2 separate regions of the Homo sapiens genome follow, and region 2 is linked to region 1. The links are contacts of gene promoters, found by promoter capture Hi-C in human tissues and cell types (Jung and others, 2019). All regions are on one chromosome and are shown on one strand. Each heading gives the region's core, a stretch centred on a gene start or on the middle of the fragment in contact. The rest is flanking DNA. Distances are from core to core; before and after follow the strand shown.

Region 1 (6,483 bases), core at 1,888-4,387:
ATGAACATCCTCATTGGGCTGTTACACAAATGCGAAATTAACTTCTGTTGTGTTAAGCCAGTGAAATGTGGGGATGTATTTGTTATAGCAGCTAGCATGCCTCAGAGAATACCCTAACTTCTTTCTGCCTAACACAAATCTGATTTTGTACCCCTTCAATGTGCCCAGTCCCAGAGGATGACTCATGATTGTTTCCTGCTAATCATGGTAACCCCACTTCCCTTTGTCAATGATTGGTCTAATGATAGACATGTGACCCAGATATGGCCAATGAGACATAAGGAGAAGTATATTCCATTCCTTTGGGACAAAAAGTGAGAACTTGGGCCGGGCGCAGTGGCTCATGCCTGTAATCCCAGCACTTTGAGAGGCCAAGGCAGGCAGATCACTTGGGGTCAGGAGACTGAGACCAGCCTGGCCAACATTGTGAAACCCCGTCTCTACTAAAAATACAAAAATTAGCTGGGCATGGTGGTGGGCACCTGTAATCCCAGCTACTCAAGAGGCTGAGGCAGGAGAATCACTCGAGCCTGGGAGATGGAGGTTGCAGTGAGCTGAGATCGCACCACTGCACTCTAGCCTGGGCAACAGAGTAAGACTCCATCTCAAAAAAAAAAAAAAAAAAGGAAATAAGAGCTTGTTCGTGTTCCTCTCTCCTTCTGCTTTTAGAAATTATTGTGAAGGCATGCATGATGGTTCAGTGGCAACCCTCCCATGACCATGAAGAGAAATATCACCGTCACACCTAAAGACAGCAAAGAGGAAAGACAGGAAAAAATTTAGGTTCTAACTGACACTGTTGGCTACTGCCCCATCCCTGGAACTGCCTACCTCTAGACATCATGTTAGGTGAAATAGCAAGAGTCACTGTTGTTTAAGGCAGTCACCAAATATTTTGTTCATTGAAGCCTAAAGCATTCCTAACTGACATGGTCCATACCTTGAAAATGGTTCTCAGGTTAATGGGTGATAGGAAAATAGTGGCTGGTAATGTAGGAACCTCTGGATTTTCCCTGATGTTTTTGAGGGTTTGGGGGCCAACTGAATTGTCTGATGTTGGGAAATTCCCACAGGCAGGGAAGTGGTATAAGACAATGGTTCTGTATCTTGATCATTTCTGGAAGGGTCCTCCAGGTAGGAGTAGAAGCTGTAGGAGGATTTACCTGACTAACAAGGTTTGGGCACAGGATGCTCTCTCTGGGACCTCTTTCAGCCCTGGAATTTGGGGCAGCTCCAATTTCATATTGTCCAGGAGCTGTTCTATGTTCCAGGGCCCTTTGGGTCCTAAGTGGATTTGTAATGCACCATCTTAATAACATGAACTGGGTATATCTGACCTTCACTGACAGTGTGATTTGACCTCTCTGAGCTTCAGTTTCCTCATCTGTAGAATGGGGATACCCACACCCATATCTCAGCGCAAAATAATGTCTGTAAAGTGGTTAGCATAGTGCCTAGCTCATGACAGACGCTGGGCGAACGTAGCCTGTTTGTGAAGTGGGATTTTCAAGTACCAGTCTGTCTGGCCCATGAGATCATTGGCTGGGTTATGCACCATTCTCCAGGAACCAAAAGCTCCATCACCTCCTGCCTTTTTGCTGATCCATATGCGCATACATAGTCACTCTCCCCTAGGGTGCTGGCTTCTCTTCAGGTTCCAGATGTTAACCCAGGCCTTTCCCTTTCGATCAGTGCCCTCTGGGATGGGCTCCTACATTCCCTGGGGAACAGATCCACCCCCTCACCCCCATCCTCATAGCTTGGCCTGCAGAGCATCTCCTGGATGTCCTGACCCCTGGCTTACCACCCTCTCATTCAAGGGTCTGAAACTCATAGTCCATGGGGCCAATTCAACCTACCTCCAGTTCTGTTCCACAGTGTTTCAAAACATAAATGTGGGTCATGCACTCACTCTCCTGGCCACAGGCCCCACTCCTCCCTATTGGCTAAGCTCCCCTCCCCACAATTCTCACATTTTCTGTAACTGCCTAGAGCCAGTAGGAATTTGAATTTGCAGTTCCTGTTAGGAATCTAAAAGCTGCCCACTTCTGGGGAACAGCGTGTGCGAGGAAAAGTGCAGAGAAGCCCAGCAGCCCAGGTCAGGGGACGTCAGGCAAGGGCCTCCTGCCCCTTGGGCCTCAGTCTATTCACCACAGCATCCATAGTCCTGGGCGCATGGGCAGCTCTTGGCAAATACAGTTTGAATGAATGAAGTTTCCTCCAGGCAGAGATCATCTTCATTTATCTAATATCTAATTAGGCCTGCACCTCATCTGCTTCTGAATTTTAACAACCTGCCTTTAAAAGACAAGCCTGCCCCCGAAGGATTCCCTAGGGACCTTGGGACAGGCAGCTATGTGGATCATATTGAGCCAGGGCTGCACAACCTGGAATTAAACATGTGCTTAGGGCACTAGCCAAACAGGAGCACAGAAACACATACACAGTTTTTTGTTGTTGTTGTTGTTTTTCTTGTTTTTTGTTTGTTTGTTTTGTTTTTTGTTTTTTAAGGATTATTATGGGAGGAAAATAAAAATTTGTTGAACTTTTTTTTTTTCCTTTTTTGAGAGCGTCTCTCTCTCTCTCTGTCACCCAGGCTAGCGTGCAGTGGTTCAATCTCGGCTCACTGCAGCCTCAACCTTCCCGGGCTTAAGCGATCCTCCCCCTTCAGCCTCCCAAGAAGCTGGGACTACAGGTGGCACCACCACGCCCGGCTAAGTTTTTAAATATTTTGTAAAGACGAATTTGCCCGAGCTGGTCTCGAACCCCTGGGCTCAAGCGATCCTCTTGCCTCAGCCTCCCAAAGTGCTAGAATTACAGGCATGAGCCACCTCGCGCGGCTCTGGAGTTATTTTACACACTACAATTTATTTATGCATGATTGCGGGAGACCCTGATACTTTCAACGCTTAGGGCAGCGAGATATGAATGGACTGGGGACCGCGACCGCTCTTTCCTTTTCCCTGGCAGGGGGAGCTGTGGCGCAGCAGGCGCGGCCGGGCGGGCGGCGAAACTTACCAGTGGCGGGGCCCGGACTGCTTGTCCGTGGCTGCTCCGGCCGCTTGTCCGACGGCTGCTGCAACTGCGCTTCCGACGGTGCCGGGAGGACTGCTTGCTGCGCGGCCTCGCTGCGCCACACCCCCAGCCCCACGCCCGGGCGTTCTGGGACCCCTGGAACGGGCGCCTTTGTGACTCGCACAAACATGGACGTTCTCCCCTGCAAGTCCGCTGGGAGGGCACAGGGCCCTCGGGAGGAGAGGACAAGAGCAGCTGGTTGGAGGGAAGCTTTTGGTTGGGGGAGAGGGGCGACACACTCTCCAGCGACCCCTTACCAGACTACCCGGACCCTCATGACGCTAAGTGACTTCTTGAGTCAATCAACAGTCTTAGCCCCTCCCTCGGCCAACGCCATGCAATCGCTGGTCCACCTCGCCCCACTCACACCCCATTCACCGTCTTCTTAGCCTACACCTACACTCATGCTCACAGCAGCCCTGCTAGGTACAGACTTCACACGCAGCTAACTCAAAGGAGCCCAGTTTTTTCTACTCTGAAAAATAAAATAAAGTAAAAATAAATTAAAAAAAAATGTTGGGGCGGGGGGGGAAAGAGATATTTCATGAGAAAAATAACTTCATCAGTGCAGGAGAATTTTCTTCAGAACATCCACCTGACCCCCACCCACTGTGAGCATAACACGGGAACCCAAGTGTGATCCAGGCAAGTGAGCTTTTCACTGCCCTAACGGAGTTTAGTGGTTTAAAGATACACATTTTTCATACAATCGGCCCTGAAACACAAGTCAACTACTTTCTCTGGGGCTAAGCTCTAGAAACAATCACAGAATTAATGGAAAATTATTGGGGGTACCTGTTTTCTACAGTAATTTTGATTCCATGTGATTTCCACTTTAACTCCTAGCCCCCTGAGTGGATTGTAGTAGCTCAGCCCTGCTAAGGTCTCCACTTCATCCGTAAATTCTTGGGACAGGATGTGTGTTTTAGAACTTACCATATTTTGGAGGCCAGGTGCGCTGGCTCATGCCTATAATCCTAGCACTTTGGGAGGCTGAGGCAGGTAGATCATTTAAGGTCAGGAGCTCAAGACCAGCCTGGCCAACATGGTGAAACCCTGTGTATTTCTTTTTTTTTTTTTTTTTTTTTTGTATTTCTACTAAAAATATAACAAATTTAGCCCGGCATGGTGGCACACACCCGGTGGGTGCCTGTAGTCTCTGCTACTCGGGAGGCTAGGGCAGGAGAATTGCTTGAACCCAGGAGGCAAAGGTTGCCGTGAGCCAAGATCACACTCACTCCAGCCTGGGTGACAGAGTGAGACTCCGTTTCAAAAAAAAAAAAAAGAACTTACCATGTTTTTGGTTTCAGAAAGATAATATGGTACGCAAGGGAGTATGTTGCCCCTAATGTTGCTGGCAGCCACGTTGTAACCATGAGGGAAGTCAGTGGGACAGTATATTACATACAGGGTTCGGGCCACACAGTCCAGATCAAACGAATTACTGTTTCTGCAAGGAAACATCAATATTCATGTCAAGTAAGATAAGGATAGATTATGAACAGCTACATGTCAGGCCTTGCCTCCAAATGATTCATATGAAGTGTTTTGGATACACTTGACCATCCTCATTTTACAGATGGGGAAACAGACTTAGAGAAACCGAGTTTTGCAGTCAGTGGAGCAGCCAGGATTTGAACCCAAGGCTCCCTGTCTCTGGAGCCCCACGCTTTTCCACACCCTGACTGAAACCACAGCCCCAAATCTGAGCAGCCCTGCAAGCTGATATCTCCCATCTCTGATATTTAAAGGGCTGCTCCAGCACTCAGCTCCATGCAGAGCCCAATGACTCACACATTTCAAGTGTCAACGACTGAAAAATGATTAAGTTCAATTAGGTTCAGGACTTGTTAAAAATAGACCTTCCTCCGACGAATTTACTCTCTTTGTCTTTATGGGCGCAGCTCTCAGCAGCCGCCATGCAGAGACGTATCAGGCTTTTTTAATTAGAACATGTCAGAATCGATTCTGCTAAAGGGACCTTCTGCTTTATCAGCGGGACTTGGAGCAGGGTGAGATGCCAGCTTGCCAAAGCGATGAGCCAGCGGTGGGAAATGTTGGCGACAGCAGAGCCTCCAGAACACAGGAGGAAATTAGAGCCAAGCCGCAGAGGGACCAGGCAGAGGCATTTGGACGCAGACCAGAAAACTGACAGTCCAAGTGACTCTTTGGTTACAAAAATCAGAAACCCACTCGAACTATCTCAAAATGAATTTTTTTCTTTGGCCTCCTCATCTGTTTCCCTTTCCTTCTTCCCAGCCAATCCCAATTTGTTCAGGTAACAGTCCTTCCCCATTGAGCCTATGTAACCAGGAGCAGTTGAGTTTTACACACACCTCCAAGGTAGATCTCCATTAGTGTTAGCAAATCACAGCCATCCCATCACCTCCTTGCCAATGACTGGGAATCTAAGTTTAAGCCAATTAGTGCATAGCATTCTCCCAGAAACTTCTACTGGTCCAGGAATAGGCGTGCAACTGACAGTGGCCTATCAGACAGAAAGGAAGAACTTGGGGTAGAGGGAGATGCTTTTCTACCCTTATGGATGCAAACAAGAAAGCATGTTGCCCCTCATGTTGCTGACAGCCCTCTGGCAACTATGAGGGAAGCCAGTGTGAGATCAAGGCTAACACACGATGGAGGGAGGAGCCTAGGGAGAATTACAGAACAATGTGGCTGGCACCCTGATCATACCTTGCCTGAAACCCACATTATGAACAATAGGAACTCTGCATTTCCTATTATGTGAATGAATACGTTTCTTGTTTTTTAAGCCAGTGTGGATTGCAGTTTCTGTTTCTTTCATCTAAAGCATGCTGCATCGTATGAATGTTAGGGCTATCTCACAAAGGTTGGAGGCAGATCCCATGAGGAACAAGAACCCAGAACTAGTAAGCTGTCAGAAACCAAGGCAGCTCCTCCCTCTAGCCCTCTCTGGAACCACCTGGTCTCTCAACTTGGCCTCTTTTTTTAAGGACTATTTTCTCTGCTGTCCCCTCTTCCTCCCATCTTGCTTCTTATAAGTTCCCATTTTAGAACTCAGTTTAAAAAAAAAAAATCAATGTCCTCATCTCAACTTCCTCATCTCTTCCCAAGAGATGCTCCAATGTCCTCCTCTCTTCCCAAGAGAATACGATTGTCCTAGTCTAGATTTGATGTCCTGGCCCAATGATGTGGGTCCAGGGGGCCATGGTCAGGTGGTCCCCAACAGGGAATGTGAAAATAATTCTCGCCAGGCGCAGTGGCTCATGCCTGTAATCCCAGCATTTTGGGAGGTCAAGGTGGGTTGATTGCTTGAGCCCAGGAGTTCGAAACCAGCCTGGGCAACATGGCAAGACTCTGTCTCTGCAAAAAATACAAAAATTAGCTGGGAATGGTGGCATGCACCTGTAGTCCTAACTACTCAGG
Region 2 (6,483 bases), core at 1,982-4,481, 49 kb after region 1:
CAATTTGTTTAATGTTTCTAAATGATCCTCTTGTTGTGGTAGTTATATATTGCTGCCTAACAAATTACCATAAATTTGGCAGTTTATTTACTATCTCACCATTTCTGTGGTCAGGAATCCAGAAATGGCTTAGTTGGGTCCTCTGCTGCAGGGTCTCATAAGGCTGCAATCAAGGTGTCAAGCCAGGGCTGGGGTCTCATCTGAGACTCGCCTGGGGAAGGATCTGCTTCTAAGGTCATACAGTTGTTGTGCATCCAGTTCAGGCTGTCAGACTAAGTGCCTCAGTTTCTTGCTGGCTGTTGGCTGGAAGTCACCCTCAGTTTCTAAGCACATGGGCCAACTCCTCTGGTGGCTTACTTCATCAAAGCCAGCAAAGAAGAACATCAATTGGAAGAGTCTGCATGTAAGACAGCAGTTACAATCCTCTGCCATGTAGTCACAGATGTGAAATCCTATTACCTTTGCTGCATTCTATATGCTAAGAGCAGGTCCCAGGGCCCTCCCATACTCCAGCAGAGAGGATTACACAGGGGTGTGAATGCTAGAAGGCAGGGATCACTGGGGAGCATTTTAGAATGTGTCCCCTACAGTTGTCTTGTGCAGTTGTGCAAAGATTACACTAATGTGTGAGGACTTCCAGAACCACAAAGTGGAACACAGAAAGAAGGCTGTCTCAGTCTGGAGTGCAGTGGCGCAATCTCAGCTCACTGCAACCTCTGCCTCCTAAGTTCAAGCAATTCTCATGCCTCAGCCCCCTGAGTAGCTGGGACTACAAGTACATGACACCACAGCAGCTAATTTTTGTATTTTTAGTAAAGACAGGGTTTTATCATGTTGGCCAGGCTGGTCTTGACTTCCTGACCTCAAGTGATCCTCCCACCTCGGCCTCCCAAAGTGCTGGGATTGCAGGCATAAGCCACCACGCCCAGCCAGAGAGGGAGAATTTGGTAAATTAATTCACTGGTCTTTGCTCTTATCTAAGTGCCTCAAATTCTTAAATTATCCTTGCCCCCTATAAGCACATTCATCTCCAACATTGGCAGCAGCCCAACCCATGAACTTTCACTGCATTAGGACACAGTTGTTATTTTGAGGACCTAATCTAAGGGATGTGGAGAAGCTTTTCTCTGGAGTCTAAATCGTATAAGTCATGAGAGTGAAGGTTTTGGACTGTGGTTGTGCCATGATAGTTCTGAGTTCCAGGCTCCAAGTGACAGACTCCAAGTGATGGAGGCCACATGTGTTTTTTAAATAAATTCTTTGTGTGTGTACGTTTGTGATTTTCAGGGCTGCTTGAGTATCCTCACAACATGGCAGCTGGATTTCCCCAGAGCAAGTGATCCAAGAAAGAAAGAGCAAGATAGAAGCCATAATGTCTTTTATGACTCAGACCTGGAAATCACACACCATCATTTCTGCAATATCCATCTGGTCACACAGGTCAGCACTATTCAGTGTGGAAGGGTGCTACACTGTTGTAGTAAGCAGAATTCTAAAACAGTTCCCAAGATCCCACCTCCTGGTGTACATACCCTGTATACTTTCCTCCCTTTGTGTGTGTCAAGACTTATGGGCCGGGTGTGGTGGCTCACGCCTGTAATCCCAGCACTTTGGGAGGCCGAGGCGGGTGGATCACGAGGTCAGGAGATCGAGACCATCCTGGCTAACTTGGTGAAACCCCATCTCTACTAAAAATACAAAAAAAAATTAGCCAGGCACAGTGGCGGGTGCCTGTAGTCCCAGCTACTCAGGAGGCTGAGGCAGGAGAATGGCGTGAACCCAGAAGGCGGAGCTTGCAGTGAGCCAAGATAGCGCCATTGCACTCCAGCCTGGGTGACAGAGCAAGACTCTGCCTCAAAAAAAAAAAAAAAAAAAGACTTATGAAGATAGTGGGTTATCACTCTTACGATTATGTTACATTATAAAGCAGAAGAGATTTTGCAGATGTAATTAAGGTCCCTAATCAATTGAATCTGAGTTAATCAAAAGGGAAAATGCCTCAAGTGGCCTGACCTAATCCAGTAAGCCCTTAAAAGAGGTCAGAGAGAGTCAAAGCTAAGAAGAATTTGGGCTGGGCACAACAGCTCACACGTGTAATCCCAGCACTTTGGAAAGCCAAGGTAGGCGAATCACCTGAGGACAGGAGTTTGAGACCAGCCTGGCCAATATGGCAAAACCCCATCTCTACTAAAAATACCAAAATTAGCCAGGTGTGGTGGCACACACCTGTAGTCCTAGCTACTTGGGTGGCTGAGGCATGAGAATCACTTGGACCCGGGAGGTGGAGGTTGCAGTGAGTGGAGACAGTGCCACTGCACTTCAGCCTGGGTGACAAAGCCAGACTCTACCTCAGAAAAAAACAAAGAAAAGGCTGGGTGCAGTGGCTCATGCCTGGGACCTACTCCTCTCCTCATTCGTTCATTCATTCCACAAACAATTCCTGAACCCCCTACTCTGTTCATGCACAGTGCTGGTTAGTGGGGGCCCAGAAGTGACTCATGTGTTTCCCAATCTCCAGGAGTTCCAATCTGGAGCAGAAAGCATCCCATGGCATTCCTCAACTATTCCCGACATAACCCATATGTAGTTGAGACTCCAGAATCTTCCAAGGACTGGTTTCAGCACATTGTTCCACCCCCAAACCACAAACCTGACCCCTAAAGCATTGACATACAGTACTTTTGCTTAAGTTTCCTAGTGGAGACCAAGGATGATATTTGATATGGTTTGGCTCTGTGTCCCCTTCCAAATCTCATCTCCAATTGTAATCCCCACGTGTTGAGTGAGGGACCTGATGGGAGGTGATTGGATCATAGGGGTGGTTTTCTCCATGCTGTTCTCGTGATAGAGAGGGAGTTCTCACAGATCTGGTTGTTTGATAAGTGTCTGGCATTTCCCCTGTGCTCTCTCTCCTTCCACCCTCATTGTAAGTTTCCTGAGGCCTCCCCAGCCATGCAGAACTGTAAGTCAATTAAACCTCTTTTGTTTATAAATTACCCAGTCTCAGGTAGTATCTTTATAGCAGTGTGAAAACGGACTAATATGGAATTACATCACATATTATGAACTAAATGTTGTCAAACTTTTCTTTTTTGTTAGAGACAGGGTCTTGCTCATGTCACCCAGGCTGGAGTGCAATGGTGTGATCATAGCTCACTGCAGCCTCAATCTCCTGGGCTCAAGTGATCCTCCCACCTCAGCCTCTCAAGTAGCTGAAACCACAGGTACATGCACAGTACCTGGCTTCAGATTTCTGTATTAAACTTCTCTTCTCTCCTTAAGCTGTATTATCCAGGATGTCTTCTCTCCCTCCTCCCTTGCTAAACATCTTCATTATTCCGAGGAGTTTTTTGTTTTCATACTCCACTTGGCACAACAAAAGCCTGGTGATAAGTCAAACCAATGTGGGCATGGATGGAAGAGGGATTGGCCTCCTCAGTTCTGTAGGCAGCCCTGCCCTAACCCTTGTGACCTTGAATGAGGTACCTGCTGTCCCAGTTTCCTGCCCCTTAGGGGAGAACAGCAGCTTCCTGAGCACCCCAGCCAGGCTTCTGAAGTTCTAGGAGGAAGATGTTAGGGAAATAGCAAGTCCAGATCATGACCAGCTCAGGCCCTTCAGAATGAGGGCATTGAAATAAAAGGTCAAAGACCCTGAGGACAGTGGCTAAGATCCAGCTTCCAGAATATCACAGCGACCCCAGTCAGGGCCCCTCCAGGCCCCACTGGGTATGGGTAGAAGCCTGAGCTGTTGGATGTCCCAAGTTACCATTCTTTTTTTTTTTTTTTTTTTGAGACCGAGTCTCGCTCTGTCGTCTGGGCTGGAGTACAGTGGTGCGATTTCAGCTCACTGCAACCTCTGCCTCCCAGGTTCAAGCGATTCTCCCACCTCAGCCTCCCAAGTAGCTGGAATTACAGGCATGCGCCACCACACCCGGATAATTTTTGTATTTTTAGTAGAGATGGGGTTTCACCATGTTGGCCAGGCTGGTCTCAAAGTCCTGACCTCAGGTAATCTGCCTGCCTCAGCCTCCTGAACTGCTAGGATTACAGGCCTAAGCCTCTTCGCCCGGACGACCGAGTCACCATTCTGGAAGCCAGCCCTCCACCCTGAGTGACAACCATCTTCATCACTCTCCTGTCTCCGGAAGGGGACTGTCTTCACTCACTCCCTGCCCAATCTCCTCAGTCTTGAGACTTTAAGGATCACTCATAGGATGACTCATCAGTCTCCTCCCCTGCCTTCACCTTAAGTCCCTGACCATTATCCACCTGCTAACTGACATGTCAGCCGGAAGGTACAATGGCCATAGCAAACCTGCCACGTCCAGAATAGAGAGTCTCCATTTCATCCTCCTCGCTCTCCAACCACCCTCACTGAAACCTACTCCTTCATATTCCCCATCTCGATAAATGGCCCCATCACATCTGCCCAGTTGCTTGAGCCAGAAACCAAGGATTTAACCTTGATTCTTCTCTTGAATCCCCCAACTATAACTCATCGTCATTTTATTGGCTCTCCTTCCAAACATTTCCCCAATCTTTATTTTGTCTCCACGGCTCCCACCTTGGTCCAGCTCACTGCCTTCTCAGACCAGGGTGACTTCAGGAACTTCCTCAACCTGCTCCCTACTCCCTCTCTTGCCACACCACAGCCTACTCTCCACACAGCACCCTGAGAAAGCATGATTCTCCTGCTTAAGCGCTCCACGTTTTTATTTAAAAATTTATTTTATTTTGTATTTTATGGCTTTTTTTTTGTTTTTTTTTTTTTGTTTTTTTAGAGAAAGGGTCTCACTCTGTCACCCAGGCTGGAGTGCAGTGGCGCAATCACAGCTCATTGTAGCCTCAACCTCCTGGGTCCAAGCCATCCTCCCACCCCAGCCTCCCAAAGTGCTGGGATTACAGGTGTGAGCCACTGCACTCAACAGCCTCTCCAAGTTTTTATGCAGCTGCCACACACTTGTTTCATCTGGCTGTGGCCTATATCTTGAACTTTCAGCCTTTCCTGTATTCTATGCTAGCCACATGCATCCTCCCTGTTCCCCATACACACCAGGCTTCATCTGACCTCAGGGCCTTTGCATGTGCTGTTCCTTTCACCTGAAATCCTCTCCCCTCTCCTACCTATTTGTGTAGCTGGCTTGACCTTGCCATTTAGATCTCAGTCCAAAAGTCGCCTCTTTAGAGACCCCATTCCTATATAAATGAGGCACACCCACTCTCACTCCCACCCAGCTACTGCCTACTACACCATCTTATTAGAATTCTCCCGTAGAGCCTGTCACTATCTTACTATCTTTTTTTTATTTTTTTTTAGACAGTCTTTCTCTGTCACCCAGGCTGGAGTGCCGTGGTGTGACCTCAGCTCATGGCAACCTCCACCTCCAGGGTTCAAGCAATTCTCGTGCCTCAGCCTCCCGAGTAGCTGGGATTACAGACGTGCACAATCACGTCAAGCTATTTTTTGTATTTTTAGTAGAGATGAGGTTTCACATGTTGGCCAGGCTGCTCTCCAACTCCTGACCCCAGGTGATCCGCCTGCCTGGGCCTCCCAAAGGTCTGGGATTACAGGAGTGAGCCACTGCGCCCCGCCTCATCATCTTATTTTTGCTTGCTTGCTTACTTATTTAGATTGTCTTCCCCATTAGAATTTCAGTGCCAAGAAAGCTGTTTGGTCACTGCTCTATCTCTAGCCCCTAGACCAGTGCCTGACATATAGGACTTGCCCAGGAAATATCTCTCAAACTCATTCTTTCATTCATTCATTCAGCATATATTTACTGAGGCTTACTGCTTAATGACTCAGGAACCCCAAGGGTACAAGGGTAACCAAGACTTCTGGCACCAGTGGGTTCAAATTCAGGCTCCCCCATCATTCCCCATCTCTGACATCTGCTCTCTGAGCCTGTTTCCCCATCCATAAAATGGGTGGGTTCAAATTCAGGCTCCCCCATCATTCCCCATCTCTGACTCTGAGCCTGTTTCCCTATCCATAACATGGGAATAAGAATATCTATTTGGCAGGATTGTTACGAGAATTAAACATAAACCTGCAAAAGGCTACCAGACAACCTCACACATAGTAGGTACTCATTAAGTGAGTCCTTTTATCCCATGACCAAGGGTGACCCTGACTGCCTGGCAACTGCCCCAGAGAATGTGGACACAGGCCTGGGGGCTCTGACACAGCTGTGGAACAGCTGGACGCCTGCGTGGGTGAGAGGTCGAGAACGGATGTGGGGTGGGTGGAGGCCCCTGAGGCCAGCTGGTGACCCAGTTGGCCACAGAGACAAGGGAGAAAAGGACCAGAAATAAGCCAGGGCAGCTTCTTGAAATAACAGAATGGGAACAGGATGGGGCCACAGGATGCCTCCCGGGGGCAAAGAATTGGGAAGGCAGGAAGATGTGTCCCTCAACTCTAGCTCCAAGAATCCCCAGACAGGCCGGGGAACTTGGCCAACCCTCAGAGCCCTGCCTCCCACC

The links. The method cuts DNA at HindIII sites, captures the fragments that hold promoters and counts their contacts. A contact is called where the count stands out against the background at its distance.
Region 2: a contact is called between a fragment that was not itself captured here and the fragment with the promoter of CCDC63 in region 1, in 1 of the 25 tissues and cell types used here (heart right ventricle).

What each region holds. Positions count from the first base shown.
Region 1 is chr12:110,843,641-110,850,123 of GRCh38, reverse strand. It overlaps CCDC63 (coiled-coil domain containing 63), which reads right to left and starts at 3,137. Exons shown (of 12, transcript NM_152591.3): 1 at 3,019-3,137. The HindIII fragment of the contact is 19,678 bases long and covers 1-6,483 here.
Region 2 is chr12:110,794,834-110,801,316 of GRCh38, reverse strand. No RefSeq gene overlaps it. Among named protein-coding and RNA genes, the nearest start is that of CCDC63, 49 kb to the left of the region's middle. The HindIII fragment of the contact is 5,679 bases long and covers 392-6,070 here.